Linked DNA regions of Homo sapiens: regions 1, 2, 4 and 5 are each linked to region 3. Evidence: promoter capture Hi-C in 16 types of primary human blood cells and fetal thymus (Javierre and others, 2016). All regions are on one chromosome and are shown on one strand. Each heading gives the region's core, a stretch centred on a gene start or on the middle of the fragment in contact. The rest is flanking DNA. Distances are from core to core; before and after follow the strand shown. Region 1 overlaps LINC01012 (long intergenic non-protein coding RNA 1012). Region 2 has its middle 4.6 kb from the start of TRV-AAC1-5. Region 3 holds the start of PRSS16 (serine protease 16). Region 4 has its middle 4.3 kb from the start of TRL-CAA2-1. Region 5 has its middle 9.8 kb from the start of TRV-AAC3-1.

Region 1 (2,726 bases), core at 26-2,525, 460 kb after region 3:
ACACCAAAAGCTGAGACTCTGAACTTGATCAGCGTATTTTCAAATTTCAGGAATTCTTCTCATCAGAGAGCCTAACTTGGAAATGACCATTTACCTTTTCCAAATTTTCTTAACCCATAAAGAGGTTAAGGCCAACATAAGGGAGCTAATACATCTGCTGATTGAAAGTCAGATTATCTCAACTGCAAAAAAAAGTTGGGGCTTGAGTTAGATATTAAAAAAATAAAAATGATTCACTGTGAAAAGTGGTACAAAACTATGTTAAACATAACATTGTTGGGACAAAACAAAAATTAATTTTATTGAAAGACTGACTTTTTAAAGTTTTTTAGCTTGTTATTTTATTTCTTTTTTGTTGTTGTTTCTTTGAGATAGTGTCTCAGTCTGTCCCGCAGGCTGGAGTGCAGTGGCACGATCTTGGCTTACTGCAACCTCCACCTCCTGGGTTCAAGTGATTCTTGTACCTCAGCCTCCTAAGGAGCTGGGATTACAGACATGCACCACCACACCCTGCTACATTTTATTTTTTTGTATGTATTTTTAGTAGAGATGGAGTTTTACCATGTTGCCCAGGCTGGTCTCGAACTCCTGGGCTCAAGCAACCCTCCCGCCTCGGCCTCCCAAAGTGCTGGGATTACAGGCTTGAGCCACTGCGCCCAGCCTAGCTCGTTATTTTAAAAAGTATTCCCCATTTCTTGTAAATCGCTTGTTCTCTGCACAGTGGAACATTCTCTTGGCTGATTTGTAGATGGGAAGGCTCTTTCTACCGAACTCAGACTCATTACTGTCAGGAGTAGCAAACGTTAACTTTCTAAATGCATTTTACCCAGAATATAAACCTATGTGCTATTCTTAAATAGATTTAAACTTTCTCAATTCTAACATTTTAATAATTTTAGAACTCATTTCCAACCTGTTTTATACACTGTTCAGCTGATACTTCACAATTAGTACTTTTGATCTAAGTGTTTTCAGGGTGAGATTCCAGATGATCCCAGTAGTTTTGTTGATAAGTCTTCCGTCTTCCCATTAAGTGAAAGTCATATGTTGAAGAATGCAAATCCTTCAGTGTTTAGGTTTTACTCCTGAATTAGTCAGTCTTTCAGACACCCCAGAATAAATCCAGTTACTGCCTCTCATCTTTAAAAACCCTTCTGGTTTCTTCAGTCAGAGAACACAAATCTCCAAGTATTATTGCCAGGCTGAAATTCAGGACACAGCAACTTATTTCGGATGTTAATGTTCCTTGCTCCCCAACTTTATGCAAATGACAAAGGACGAAAACATACAAGGACATGCTTTGGGAGTCCAGGGTGGGAGGATCGCTTGAGCCCAGGAGTTCAAGACCAGCCTGGTCAACATAGTGAAACCTCATCTCTACAAAAAAAATTGAACTTAGCTATGTATATTGGCACATGCCTGTAGTCCCAGCTACTCAGGTTACTGAGGTGGGAGATTGGCTTGAGCCTAGGAATTTGAGGCTGTAGTGAGCCATTATGGTGCGATTGCACTCCAGCCTGGGTGACAGAGGAAGATTCTGTCTCACAAAAAAAAAAAAAAAAAAAAAAAAAAAAAGTATATTATCTATTTGGGAAATCACATTAAAAACCTACACACACCAGGCCGGGCACGGTGGCTCATGCATGTAATCCCAGCACTTTGGGAGGCCAAGGGGGGCGGATCACGAGGTCAGGAGATCGAGACCGTCCCGGCTAACACGGTGAAACCCCGTCTCTACTAAAAATACAAAAAATTAGCCGCACGTGGTGGCGAGCGCCTGTAGTCCCAGCTACTCGGGAGACTGAGGCAGGAGAATGGCGTGAACCCGGGAGGCGGAGCTTGCAGTGAGCCGAGATCGCGCCTCTGCACTCCAGCCTGGGCGACAGAGCGAGACTTTGTCTCAAAAAAAAAAAAAAAAAATACACACACCAAAGAATATACTTTAGGACAAATTATAGACAAGTATATAATAGTATAAGCAGCATTTACAATGAATTCACAATCTTCTTTTAGAAAAAAGGAAAGGATACAGCAATTAAGAGAGTTCCATGCCCTCAGGTTTTATTATTTGACGTGATGGCAGACAGAGGGGATGAAAAGGAGCAGACATCCTTTTTGTGAAAACATTTAGGCCCTCAAGTCAAGAAACTAGGGCTTGAAAGCCCTTGTTTTTGGACTCTAAGGATCTCATGAAAGCTGTGGACTGACTCTTCAGAAAAATACACATACACTTGATATTTTGCACGAGTTTCTTGGTGTTCATGGGTACCCTTCAGGCAAGTGAAATATATTATCTGTCTCAAACTGCATTCTTCTTTGATTTCCTTCACCACAGTGGCTGGAGAACTAAAAATTCTTTCTTTTTCTGATTTCTCTGTAGTTGGGGTAACATGTGACCTGGATCTGATCATTGTGATTCAAGTCAGCGTCATTTAGGGTTTTCGGGAAACATTTTTTGAAAGGGAGCAACTTGGCTGGAACACTCCATCAATTCTTTGCCCTGTGCATTTTTGCCCTTCTTTCTGCCTCTCAGGAATGCAGAGAGAATTCCTGGAGGAACAGCAGCTATCATACATCCGTGATGAAAGCCATGGGACAAAGGCAATTGAGCAAGAAGACAGGAGCTGGGGACATTCTTGACAGTAGTGCCACCTCTGGATGATTTACCTTGGGACCTCTTATTAAATGAGATAGGACTTCTTCCTGTTTAATCCACTGGAGTGGAA
Region 2 (2,700 bases), core at 20-2,519, 510 kb after region 3:
CTAAGCTTCCCATTGTCCCTCAGATCAGTAAAGAAGACCAGCCCTAAGCTGCTGACCACAGGTTCATGGGACTCTTCTGAGGGAATGTGAGGCCCAGAACTTACGCTAGTGATTCTCCAGGTGGACTATTCCTAAGATTCCTTGCCATACCCCCTTCTAGTGCAGAGGGTCTCTGGTATGGCCCACAAGTCTTAATTTTTAGAAGCTTCCAGGTGATTCAGAAGCTGAGGACCTTTGGGAAGATTTTGACAATCCTTTCATTAATGACAAATTTGTTTCATCTTAAAAAACAAAACTTCATCCTTGTATGTGTGGAGGAGGACACTATAGTGAAATTAAAGAAAAAAAAAGTCAAATTATCTGCTCCCTCCATCTACCTGAGGTTTTCTTGCTTGGCATTTGCAAAGAAATTGGGCGCATGGGTGAATACTTTGATTGCTATAAAGAGTAGAGTTTGGCCGTTGATTTTAGTACACTAAAAGTGCAAGGGCAAGAAACATACCAGCACCTTGACAGTTTCTGGGAAGAAACTTAACGGCACCTTCTGGACCCAATCTGCGTGGCGCAGTGGCCTAAAGAGGCGACCGAACCTGCATCCCTAGCTCCGCCTTCCCGGTCCCTGCACACCCCGGCAGCTTCCGCGCGATTCTTCCCGCCCCCGACACCCGCCGCCACACAAAGGCGCTGCGTCCTGGCGGCCAGCGGGGGCTTAGTCTAGGCCCGGCAGGGTTTTCTGGAAGACCAGAGGGCCACCAGGTCACCGAGGTGGGAAGTGAAGAGAGGTTCGACGCTGCCTCAGGCCTGGGCCTGGCCGGTGGGAGACACAGCAAGGACTCTGGGAGCCTGCAGAGCAGAGGCCGCCGCGGGGCCGGGCCCCCGTCTCCTCCTCAGGTCCAAGACCAGAGGGTCTGCAGGGCCCCAGAGCAGCTGGCCGCGCTCCGCTTCCCACCGCGCTCTCTGCTGGAACTCATGTGGTTGTTTATCCTTATTTTGCTAAATTTCTTTATTTGCTGTAACAGTTTGTGTGTGTGTGTGTTTGAGTGTGTGTGTGTAATTTTCAGGGTTTTCTATATATAAAAATCATGTCACGGCCAGGCTTGGTGGCTCACACCTGTAATCCCAGCACTTTGGGAGGCCAAGGTAGGAGGATCGCCTGAGCCCAGGAGTTCGAGACCAGCCTGGGCAACACGGGCAACATAGCGAGACCCTAGTCTCTAAAATTTTTTTTATTAGCCGGGCATGGTGGCAGGCGCCTGTGGTCCCAGTTACTCCGGAGGATGAGGCAGGGTAATCGCTTGAACCAGGGAAGTCGAGGCTTCAGTGAGGCATAATTGCTCTGCTGCATCCCAGCCTGGGTGACAAAGAGAGATCCCATCTCTCTCTCAAAAAAAAGTCATGTTATCTGTGAACATAGATAATTTTACTTTTTCCTTGCCAATACTGTGCTGAATAACATGGTGAAAGTGGGCACCCATTATTCCTGATTGTAGGAGAAAAATTTTCAGTCTTTCGCTGTTGAGAATGATATTAGTTGTATGTTTTTCATAATTGGGCATTATCAAGTTGAGGAAGTTTCCTTCTATTCCTGGTTTACATTGTGTGTGTGTGTGTGTTTTGTTTGTTTGTTTTGACAGAGTCTTGCTCTGTCACCCAAGCTGGAGTGCAGTGGCCGCGATCTCGGCTCACTACAGCTTAGACCTCCAGGGCTCAAGCAATCCTTCGACTTCAGCCTGCCAAGTAGCTAGGACCATAGGCGTACAGCACCACATTTAGAAGTCCCTGAGAAAATTATCTTGGAGGAAAACTCGCAAGTCCGACTATTGGTTTTCCAAGGAAGCCAGTCTCGCCTGTGAGGAGGGATCCTGCTCGCCCTGGGAGCCTACTCAGACACCATGGGGAATGGGGGGTGGGGCTCAGAGCGCGCAGGCTTGGTTTTTTTCCCCCTCCGAACTCCTGAGTTCCAGTGATCTGCCTGACTCAGCCTCCCACAGTGCTGGGATTACAAGTGTGAGCCACTGCGCCTGGCCTATTACTTGTTTTAATAATAACAAAAAACAGCAAAATCTTGCAGAAGGTTGGAAGGTAACCAAGCAGCTTAGCTTCAAACCACGTTTTAAAAACTTTGTTTCTTTTCTTCTTTCTCCCCAGTTTCTAGACATAGCTTTGAGACAAACTGCAGATGTGCTTTCTTTTGTCGTCAATTACTGCCTTGGAATGGGCATTAAAACTGCCTTCCCTTTCGCATCTTATGCCCCCATGCCTTATGCTCATTTATTTACCTGGATGCTTGTTAAGCTCATACCATGCCCACTTATCTGGTCATATATTTCCTTAGAAGCTTCAGGGGCTGAATCCTGATGCAGACCAGACATCTCCAGAATTCTCTCTCCAGTAGGAGATTAATTCAAGGACAATATTCACTCTTGGCTAGAGATTATCTGCAAGATTGACTGTCATTAATTTGTAACTTGATTGGGCCTACAATGTCACTGGCCCCTTCACCAGGTGAAACAATAATTCAAGATAAGCCATCAGAATGAGACACCCACTGGGCACCTCCTGCCTCTTGCCCCTCTGCATTACAAGCTCCTCTCCTTGAAATGCTTGGCCTCTCTCCAGAAATTGGAGAGTGGCAAATTTTGGCCAGCCACTCTCCCCATTGCTAGCATGGATAATAAAACTTACTCTATTTTTAATTAC
Region 3 (2,700 bases), core at 34-2,533:
GCAAAAATTCTAAGGAAGGAGTGAGTCTTGTGAAATATGAAATAGTCCAATGCAGTTGGAGCAGTGAACCCAGGAGGGGTAGGAGATGAAATCATGACAGTATATACAACAGGGGGCCAGGTCATACAGAGTTTTAAAAACTGTTTTCAAAACTTTAGATTTACTTTGAGTAAGATGGGGCATCAGGGAAGTGTTCTAAACCAGGGAGTGAATGATTGTGAATGATTGGGCTAATATTTAATTCTGTCTCTCTGTCTGCTGAGTGTAGAATAAATCATGAGGCAGAAACAGGGTGACCAGCTAAAAGCCTTCCATGATATCCCAAGTCAGAGATGATGGTGGCTCAGCAGTGGTAGCACTGAAGGTAGTGAGAAGTCATCAGATTCTGGATATATTTTTTAAATTTATGGGAATAACTTTTTAAATGTACAATATTTCTCATAGTGATAAGTCCCATGAAAAAGAATTAGGAATAAAGTTTGAAAAGGAATAGAAGAGGGCCATAGGTTTGGCAATTTTTAAAAAGCTGACCATGGAAGACCTTTCTGAATGAATGACCTTTGAATAAAGATCCAGTTGAAGTGAGGGAGCAAACCACGTGGGTATATAGGGAAATCACAATCCATAGGGTGGGAACAACAAGAATAAGAACCCTAAGGCAGAAGCAAGCCTGGTATGTTCAAAGAACTGTAAGGAGTCTATGGACAGTGTGAGATTGTGGGTCAGAGAAGCTCGGGACAGTGAAGCAGAGCAGAAAGTGAGGGGGCTGGAAAATAGACAAGGTGAGATTGGGGGACAAAGAGATGAGTATGGAGAGAAAGACTGAAAAAGAGATGGGGGACTGAGAAAAAAGAGACGGAAAGACTGAGTGTGGGAACAACTGAGGGGTACTGAAGATATGCTGAGGGGCAGAAAGAAAAGACTGAGAATAAGTGGGCAACTGGGGTTCCAGAGGAGGTGCTGAGGTGGGGAGAGACAGAGGTTGAAGGACAATAAGGCATGCAAAGGAGGAATCTGAGATAAAGAGAAGGTAGACCGAAGAGCGGAGAGGAGGAGACTGAGACAGCGAGGGCTACTGAGAGCTGAGGGAAGAACAGACTGAGAGGCCCAGAGAGAAGAAACTGGGAGTTCCGATGCTGCATCAGCAGCCTCTGTGTACAGACTCTGGCGTCCCTGCCCCGCTTTAGCAGTTCCTACAGACGCTTGACCTGCCAGGAAAGGAAAGAAACCTGAGCCTCTGCTGAAAGGTGATGGATTTAAGGCCCGGCTGCTGAGGATAAGATAAAGGTCCTCCTGGGGGAGAACAGAGTCCCGAACACCATGGCCGTCTGGCTTGCCCAGTGGCTGGGCCCTCTGCTCTTGGTTTCCCTCTGGGGACTCTTGGCTCCAGGTAAGAGGAGGCTGAGGGTCAAGCAGGGCATCCTAAGGGGGCCAGCCTGACTTCCTTCCCTCCATGTCCCACAGCCTCCCTTCTTAGGCGCCTGGGTGAGCACATTCAGCAGTTTCAGGAGAGCTCTGCCCAGGGCCTGGGCCTGAGCCTGGGGCCAGGTGCTGCAGCCCTCCCAAAAGTGGGGTGGCTGGAGCAACTGCTGGACCCCTTCAACGTGTCCGACAGACGATCCTTCCTACAGGTGAGGCCGGGAGACGGGGAGTCCACTAACCATCCTGCCCTCTCCTCAGTCTCCCTCATCTCTTCCTCAGTCTGCACTTTTTTCTCTCTCCACACCTCAGTTCTCCCCATCCCTCTGCTTGAATCTCATGTTATGCTTGCTGTCAGTATCCCTTTTCCTGCCCTTTGTAGATTTGGCCTTACTCTCTCCTCTCCTCGGGGTCCCACTCGTTTTGTCCCTCAGATCTTGCCCTTCACCATTTCTTTCTCTCTGTCATTCACATTCACTGCTCCTCCCTACCCCCTTGTCCCTGTCCAGACTGGACACAAAACCTACCACCAGGTCTCAGTAGGTAGCAGAAATTTGAACCAGCTTTGGAATCAGACCTAGCTCACAACAGGCACTCAAAGATATCTATCGAAAGAAGGAACAAATTCGCCATTTTTCAGTGCTTCCTCTGTATTTAGTCTCCAAATATCATCCCACTTGGATCTTATTCCTAAATCCATCTGCATTTATTTCTTATTTTACAATTATTACTTCAAGAAATAGCAAGTTCCTTCAATGTGAGAGCCACTCCCTCAGTTCTGGGGATATAAGAGTGAAAAACCAGGTCAAAAATTTGCTTTTGTATATTTTGCATTCTAGATGAGGAGATGAACAGGGGAAAAGTGAGCAAGTAAATAAACAAGCTCATTTCAGACACTGTTAAGTACATAAGGAAAGATCCATTAGGAAGAGAGACTGGAACAAATGAGGAATTGAGAATAAGTCAGGACTCTCACAGTGCCATTTCTTCTTCCCCATCCCACCTCTCAGCGTTACTGGGTGAATGACCAACATTGGGTTGGCCAGGATGGACCCATATTCCTGCATCTAGGGGGTGAGGGCAGCCTTGGGCCTGGCTCAGTGATGAGAGGTAAGAGGCAATGTTGGGGGAAAGGAGTTGGGATGCTGGTGGGGACCAGGAAGGGGAGCTGCATATTGCAATGCTGTGAGACCTGAGGAGTGAAAGGGCTTAAACTCAACTTGCATCTCACCTCCCCACCCCCCACCCATACACTCTTCACAGGCCATCCCGCAGCCTTGG
Region 4 (2,707 bases), core at 59-2,558, 360 kb after region 3:
TTAAAGGATCCTTCCACCTTGGCCTCCCAAAGTGCTGGGATTACAAGTGTGAGCCACCATGCCCAGCCTTCAGCAACCAGCCTTATAGTCTTCCAGTTGAGTCCTAAGAAATCATGGAGCAGAGACAAGCTGTCCCCACTGTTTTCTGCTCACATTCCTGACCAACACATCTGTGAGAGAGAATAAATGATAATTGTTGTTTAAGTTAAGCCATTGCATTTTAGTATGATTTGTTATGTAACAATAGTTAGGTATGTATCAGTCTTGGTGCAATCAGGAGAGAGAAATTACACAGTTATTTGAACATAGAAGTGACCTCACCTGGGGCTGAAACAAAGCACTAAAAGAAGTGCCCTCTACCTCTCACCCCACCCCTGGCTAAGATCCAGACCTTGTTGGGGAGAGCATGGCTGTGACTCACGGAATAGCAGAGAAATGCTCATGGTGCTATGCCAGCAGAATTTGCTTGAAATCTGTCCTCTGGAATTTTTTGGAAATTAATCTTCAAGGGTTTCTTGAAAAGCTCTTCGTGGAGAGGTCTCTCACTGAGGGCACTCTACTACAAAACACTCAAAGAAGATGCCAGGGAAAATTAGTTGTTGCTGGGTGCTGCAGGAGACTGATGCAGGGGAAAGGCATGCGTGATGTAGGAGCTAGGCACTGGGGAAGCAGCAGGCCAAGTAATACATGGGAAGAAAGAAGCAAAACTCACTTTCTTCCGCAATGTCTCTCCACTGCCCTCTACTGACAAAGCTTCAATGCCAATTGGCAAAAGAAAACCAAGGACTCAAGATTCATTTCCACGAAGCAGGCAAAAAGGGTGAATTTGGAGCTGAGAGGCAATAAATCCTGAATGGGTACAAGCAAATGCAGATTTTCTTACTTAAAAATGGGATACTGCCATAATTAATAAATTCTGAACCATGTGACTTTGGGACTTGACAGCAAGTGGAAACTGAAAAGACCTTGAGGAGAATATGAGTAAAAACACCTGAAGACAACTGCTGCCTGTCACTAAGTCCCAAAGTCAGTGATGCTTAATGGAGAGTGTGGAAAATGTTACTAGAAGCTGGAAGAAACCGGACTTTTGTTATCTAGAGACAGAAAGTTTAGCAACACTGTTGTGAAAATGTGGAAAGTAGGCCGGACGCGGTGGCTCACACCTGTAATCCCAGCACTTTTGGAGGCCTAGGTGGGTGGATCACCTAAGGTCAGGAGTTTGAGACCAGCCTGGTTAACATGGTGAAACCCCGTCTCTACTAAAAATACAAAATTAGCTGGGTGTGGTGTCACATGCCTGTAATCCCAGCTACTCAGGAGGCTGAGGCAGGAGAATCGCTTGAACCTGATGGGGGTGAGGAGCGAGGTTGCAGTGAGCCAAGATCACACCATTGCACTCCAGCCTGGGCAACAAGAGTGAAACTCTGTCTCAAAAAAAGAAAAGAAAAGAAAGAAAATGTGGAAAGTAGAAAATATACCTAATGAATTTGAAAGAAAGAAAGAGTGGAAAGTAGAAAATATACCTAATGAATTAAAGAAAGAAAGAAAGAAAGAAAAAAGAAAAGAAAGAAAGAAAGAAAGAAAGAAAGAAAGAAAGAAAGAAAGAAAGAAAGAAAGAAAGAAAGAAAAAGAAAAAAGAAAGAAAGAGGCTGGGAGCTGTGGCTCACGCCTGTAGTCCCAGCACTTTGGGAGGTCAAAGTGGGCAGATCACGAGGTCAGGAGATCGAGACCATCCTGGCTAACATGGTGAAACCCCGTCTGTACTAAAAATACAAAAAAAAATTAGCCTGGCATGGTGGCGGGCACCTGTAGTCCCCGCTACTTGGGAGGCTGAGGCAGGAGAATGGCATGAACCCGGGAGGTGAAGCTTGCAGTGAGCCGAGATCAAGCCACTGCACTCCAGCCTAGGTGACAGAGTGAGACTCCATATCAAAAAAAAAAAAAAAAAAAAAGAAAGAAAGAAAGAAAATGTGGAAAGTAGAAAATATACCTAACGATTTTGCTTATTTAGCTAAGGTTATTTCCAGGCAATATATTGAAGATGCCACCTGGCTTTTTCTAGCTGCCTATAGTAAAATAAGAGAGCAGGGAGATAAACTAAAGAAAGAATACTTTAGGACTTGTTGGATATTCAAAAATAAAACTGCTTCTCATTACCAGCCTGTCAAGATGACAGATAATGCTGTAATTAAGAAAAGGCTTTGATTCTGCTGAGAGAAAGAGAGAAGAAAAGAAAAGGCTTCTGCCACGGCACATTAGCTGGAAAAAAAAAAAAAGTCTTCTAGGAAAACATCAGACCCAAGGCATTGTCAGCAAAACATGGTCTAAAGATGAAGCCAAGGGCATGACTTTATTGCTCTATTCTTTTGTTCTGTACCTTTCATTCTGTATGCACTGATAACTTTGAGTTCTTTGTTGTTCTTCTGGAGGATGATTAGAACTTCCATGTCTTTCCATATGTTTGTTGTTTATGTGATATAAGTGTGAGGAGTCGGAACCAACTACAGACTGCTTGGGCTAACAATTTTTCTCTATTCTGTACAAGTTGCCCCTTACATGCAAGCATGGCCTGGAGTGGGGTGGGATATAAATTTGGGGTTTAGATATCTACAGAAAGCAGAGAGCTAGGCATACTTTCCTCCACCATAATCATGTGCTGGAGGCTCCATCAGCCTCCTCTTTGGATGGTAAAGTACTTATTTCTCTT
Region 5 (2,700 bases), core at 115-2,614, 390 kb after region 3:
CCCATGTTGGGTAACATCTACTGTGAGATATCACACCACCACCAAAAGGGGCTAAGTATTCTACTTTTAAAATTTTTATCTTCATGTGAAAATGAATCCAATAATTTTTTTTTTTGAGACAGAGTGTCTCTCTGTCACCCAGGCTGGAGTGCAGTGGTGCGATCTCGGCTCACTGCAAGCTCTGCCCCCCGGGTTTACACCATTCTCCTGCCTCAGCCTCCCGAGTAGCTGGGACTACAGGTGCCCACCACCACGCCCGGATAATTTTTTGTATTTTTAGTAGAGACGGGGTTTCACCGTGTCAGGATGGTCTCGATCTCCTGACCTTGTGATCTGCCCGTCTCGGCCTCCCAAAGTGCTGGGATTACAGGTGTGAGCCACCGTGCCCGGCCAGAGTCCAATAATTTTTTAGATTATTTATGGAATATAATTTCAATAGTAGAAAAATTTTCTTTCTCCCTCTTTTTTTTTTTTTCCATTTTGATCTTCTGGATTTCTTTATTGTTTGTTTACTTTTGTTCACCCCTATTTCCATTTCTATTTCTGGTATAAACTGAGAAGATCTGTATCCTTAAAATGCTCCCCTAAGTGATTTTATCCAGAGCATAAATATAGTCTTTTCCATCTCTTGTCATTTCTAAACTGTATTTCATGTAATAGTTTGTTAATTCTTTAAAATTTTGCATAGATAATATGCATGGTTTAAAATATTTTTTGTGTAAAGCTTACCATTTTTCTTATATCCTAGCCACCCAGTTCTCCTCAGAACAGGCTATTGGTTTCTGTTATTAGTTTCCTAGAAAAGCAGAATTATTTATGTTCTGTTCTTTGTCAGATGTCATTCTAGATTAGTTTCTGAGGACGAGCCCATCTCTTCCTGTGTAATGAAAAGCTGGACCACCTAACAGTAGTGTTTTGTTTGTTTTAAGAGATAGCATTTCACTATGTTGCCCAGGCTGGATTCAAGCTCCTAGGCTGAAGGGATCCTCCTGCCTCCGCTTCTCAAGTAGCTAGGACTATAAGTGCCCACCACCCCGCTTGGGTATAGTGTATTTTTTTTTAAGATGAGGCTGGCCACACCCCATAACCTCGTCAGAAATACCAATCATGTGATTTGAATCATGCATTATCAGTCAACCTGAAGACTGAGTTCAAGCAAGACCCTGTCTCAACATAAGAAAAAAACAACACCATCAAAAGCATCCAAATTGGAAAGGAAGAAGTAAAATTGAGCCTGTTTGAAGATAACATGACTTTTTATAGAGACACTCCTAAAGACTCCATTAAAAAGAAGTGTTAATACTAATGAAAAAATTCAATATATTTGCAGAATATAAAATCAACATTCAGAAATCACTTGCATTACTATACAGTAACAATAAACTACATGAAATAATAAACAATAAACTACATAAAAAGAAAAATTAAAGGACAATCCCATTTATAGTAGCACCCCTCCCCCTTAAAAAAGAATTAAACTTAATCATGAAGGTGAAATGTTGTTAATGTTTGTTAAAATTTTCAGTGATGTACAATTAATGCAATCCGTATCCAAATCTATCTGGCAGTTTTTATGAAACAGAAAAAAAGACCATAAAATTCATATAAAACTCATATGAAACTACAAAGAACCCAAAGTCACCAAGTCAATCTTGAGAAAGAACAACAAAGCTGAAGACATCACACTTCCTGATTTCAGCATATACTACAGAGCTACAGTTATTAAAACAGTCTGGTACTAGCATAAAGACAGGTATATAAACCAAAATAACAGAATAGAGAGTCCAGAGATTAATCCATAAATATATGGCCAACTGATCTTTAACAAAGTTGCCAAGAACACACAATGGGAAAAAAACGATCTCTTCAACAAATGATGTTGAGAAAACTAGATATTCACATGAAAAAGAATGAAATTAGACCCTTGTTTACACCATTCACAAAAATTAACTAAAATGGATTAATGACTTAAATCTAAGATCTGCAAATATAAAACTCTGGGAGGAAAGCTTTAGGACATTGGTCTTGGCAATGATTTAATTACTATGACATCAAAATCATAGCCCAAAATAGCAAAAATAGAAAAATGGGATTACATCAAACAAAAGAGTTTCTTTTTCTTTGTTTGTTTGTTTTTTTTTGAGATGGAGTTTCGTTCTTGTTGCCCTGGCAGAAGTGCAATGGTGCAATCTTGGCTCACCGCAACCTCCACCTCACGGGTTCAAGTGATTCTCCTGCCTCAGACATGTGCCACCATACCCAGCTAATTTTGTATTTTTAGTAGATACAGAGTTTCTCCATGTTGGTCAGGTTGGTCTCAAACTCCCGACCTCAGATGATCCACCCACCTCGGCCTCCCGAAGTGCTGGTATTATAGGCCTTCTGCACAGCAAAAAAAAAAAAAAAAAGCAACCTATTAAATGGGAAAACAAATTTGCAAACCATATATCTGATAAGGGGTTAATTTCCAAGATACATAACTCTTACAATTCAGTAGTTAATCAAAACAAATAAAAACAAAAACCTGGTTAAAAATAAAAATGGGCCCGGTGTGGTGTCTCACACCTGTAATCCTAGCACTTTGGGAGGCTGAGGCGGGCAGATCACCTGAGATCGGGAGTTTGAGACCAGCCTGACCAACATGGAGAAAACCCGTCTCTACTAAAAATACAAAATTAGTTGGGCGTGGTGGCGCATGCC

Evidence for each region. Contacts are between HindIII fragments. The CHiCAGO score rates a contact against its expected background, and 5 or more counts as called.
Region 1: a contact is called between a fragment that was not itself captured here and the fragment with the promoter of PRSS16 in region 3, in 7 of 17 cell types (megakaryocytes, erythroblasts, naive CD4 T cells and 4 more). The highest score is 7.7, in megakaryocytes.
Region 2: a contact is called between a fragment that was not itself captured here and the fragment with the promoter of PRSS16 in region 3, in 1 of 17 cell types (endothelial precursors). The highest score is 5.6, in endothelial precursors.
Region 4: a contact is called between a fragment that was not itself captured here and the fragment with the promoter of PRSS16 in region 3, in 1 of 17 cell types (megakaryocytes). The highest score is 5.4, in megakaryocytes.
Region 5: a contact is called between a fragment that was not itself captured here and the fragment with the promoter of PRSS16 in region 3, in 6 of 17 cell types (erythroblasts, M2 macrophages, endothelial precursors and 3 more). The highest score is 9.3, in erythroblasts.

What each region holds. Positions count from the first base shown.
Region 1 is chr6:27,704,259-27,706,984 of GRCh38, forward strand. The region is part of intron 2 of LINC01012 (long intergenic non-protein coding RNA 1012); the gene reads left to right. All of the region lies in intron 1 of LOC124901291 (a long non-coding RNA gene), which reads right to left. Among named protein-coding and RNA genes, the nearest start is that of LINC01012, 12 kb to the left of the region's middle. The HindIII fragment of the contact is 4,279 bases long and covers 1-2,726 here.
Region 2 is chr6:27,756,768-27,759,467 of GRCh38, forward strand. No RefSeq gene overlaps it. Among named protein-coding and RNA genes, the nearest start is that of TRV-AAC1-5, 4.6 kb to the left of the region's middle. The HindIII fragment of the contact is 2,133 bases long and covers 204-2,336 here.
Region 3 is chr6:27,246,418-27,249,117 of GRCh38, forward strand. It overlaps PRSS16 (serine protease 16), which reads left to right and starts at 1,284. Exons shown (of 12, transcript NM_005865.4): 1 at 1,284-1,390; 2 at 1,465-1,631; 3 at 2,430-2,529; 4 at 2,683-2,700. The coding sequence starts at 1,321. The HindIII fragment of the contact is 3,507 bases long and covers 1-2,700 here.
Region 4 is chr6:27,608,734-27,611,440 of GRCh38, forward strand. No RefSeq gene overlaps it. Among named protein-coding and RNA genes, the nearest start is that of TRL-CAA2-1, 4.3 kb to the left of the region's middle. The HindIII fragment of the contact is 1,114 bases long and covers 752-1,865 here.
Region 5 is chr6:27,639,881-27,642,580 of GRCh38, forward strand. No RefSeq gene overlaps it. Among named protein-coding and RNA genes, the nearest start is that of TRV-AAC3-1, 9.8 kb to the right of the region's middle. The HindIII fragment of the contact is 1,285 bases long and covers 723-2,007 here.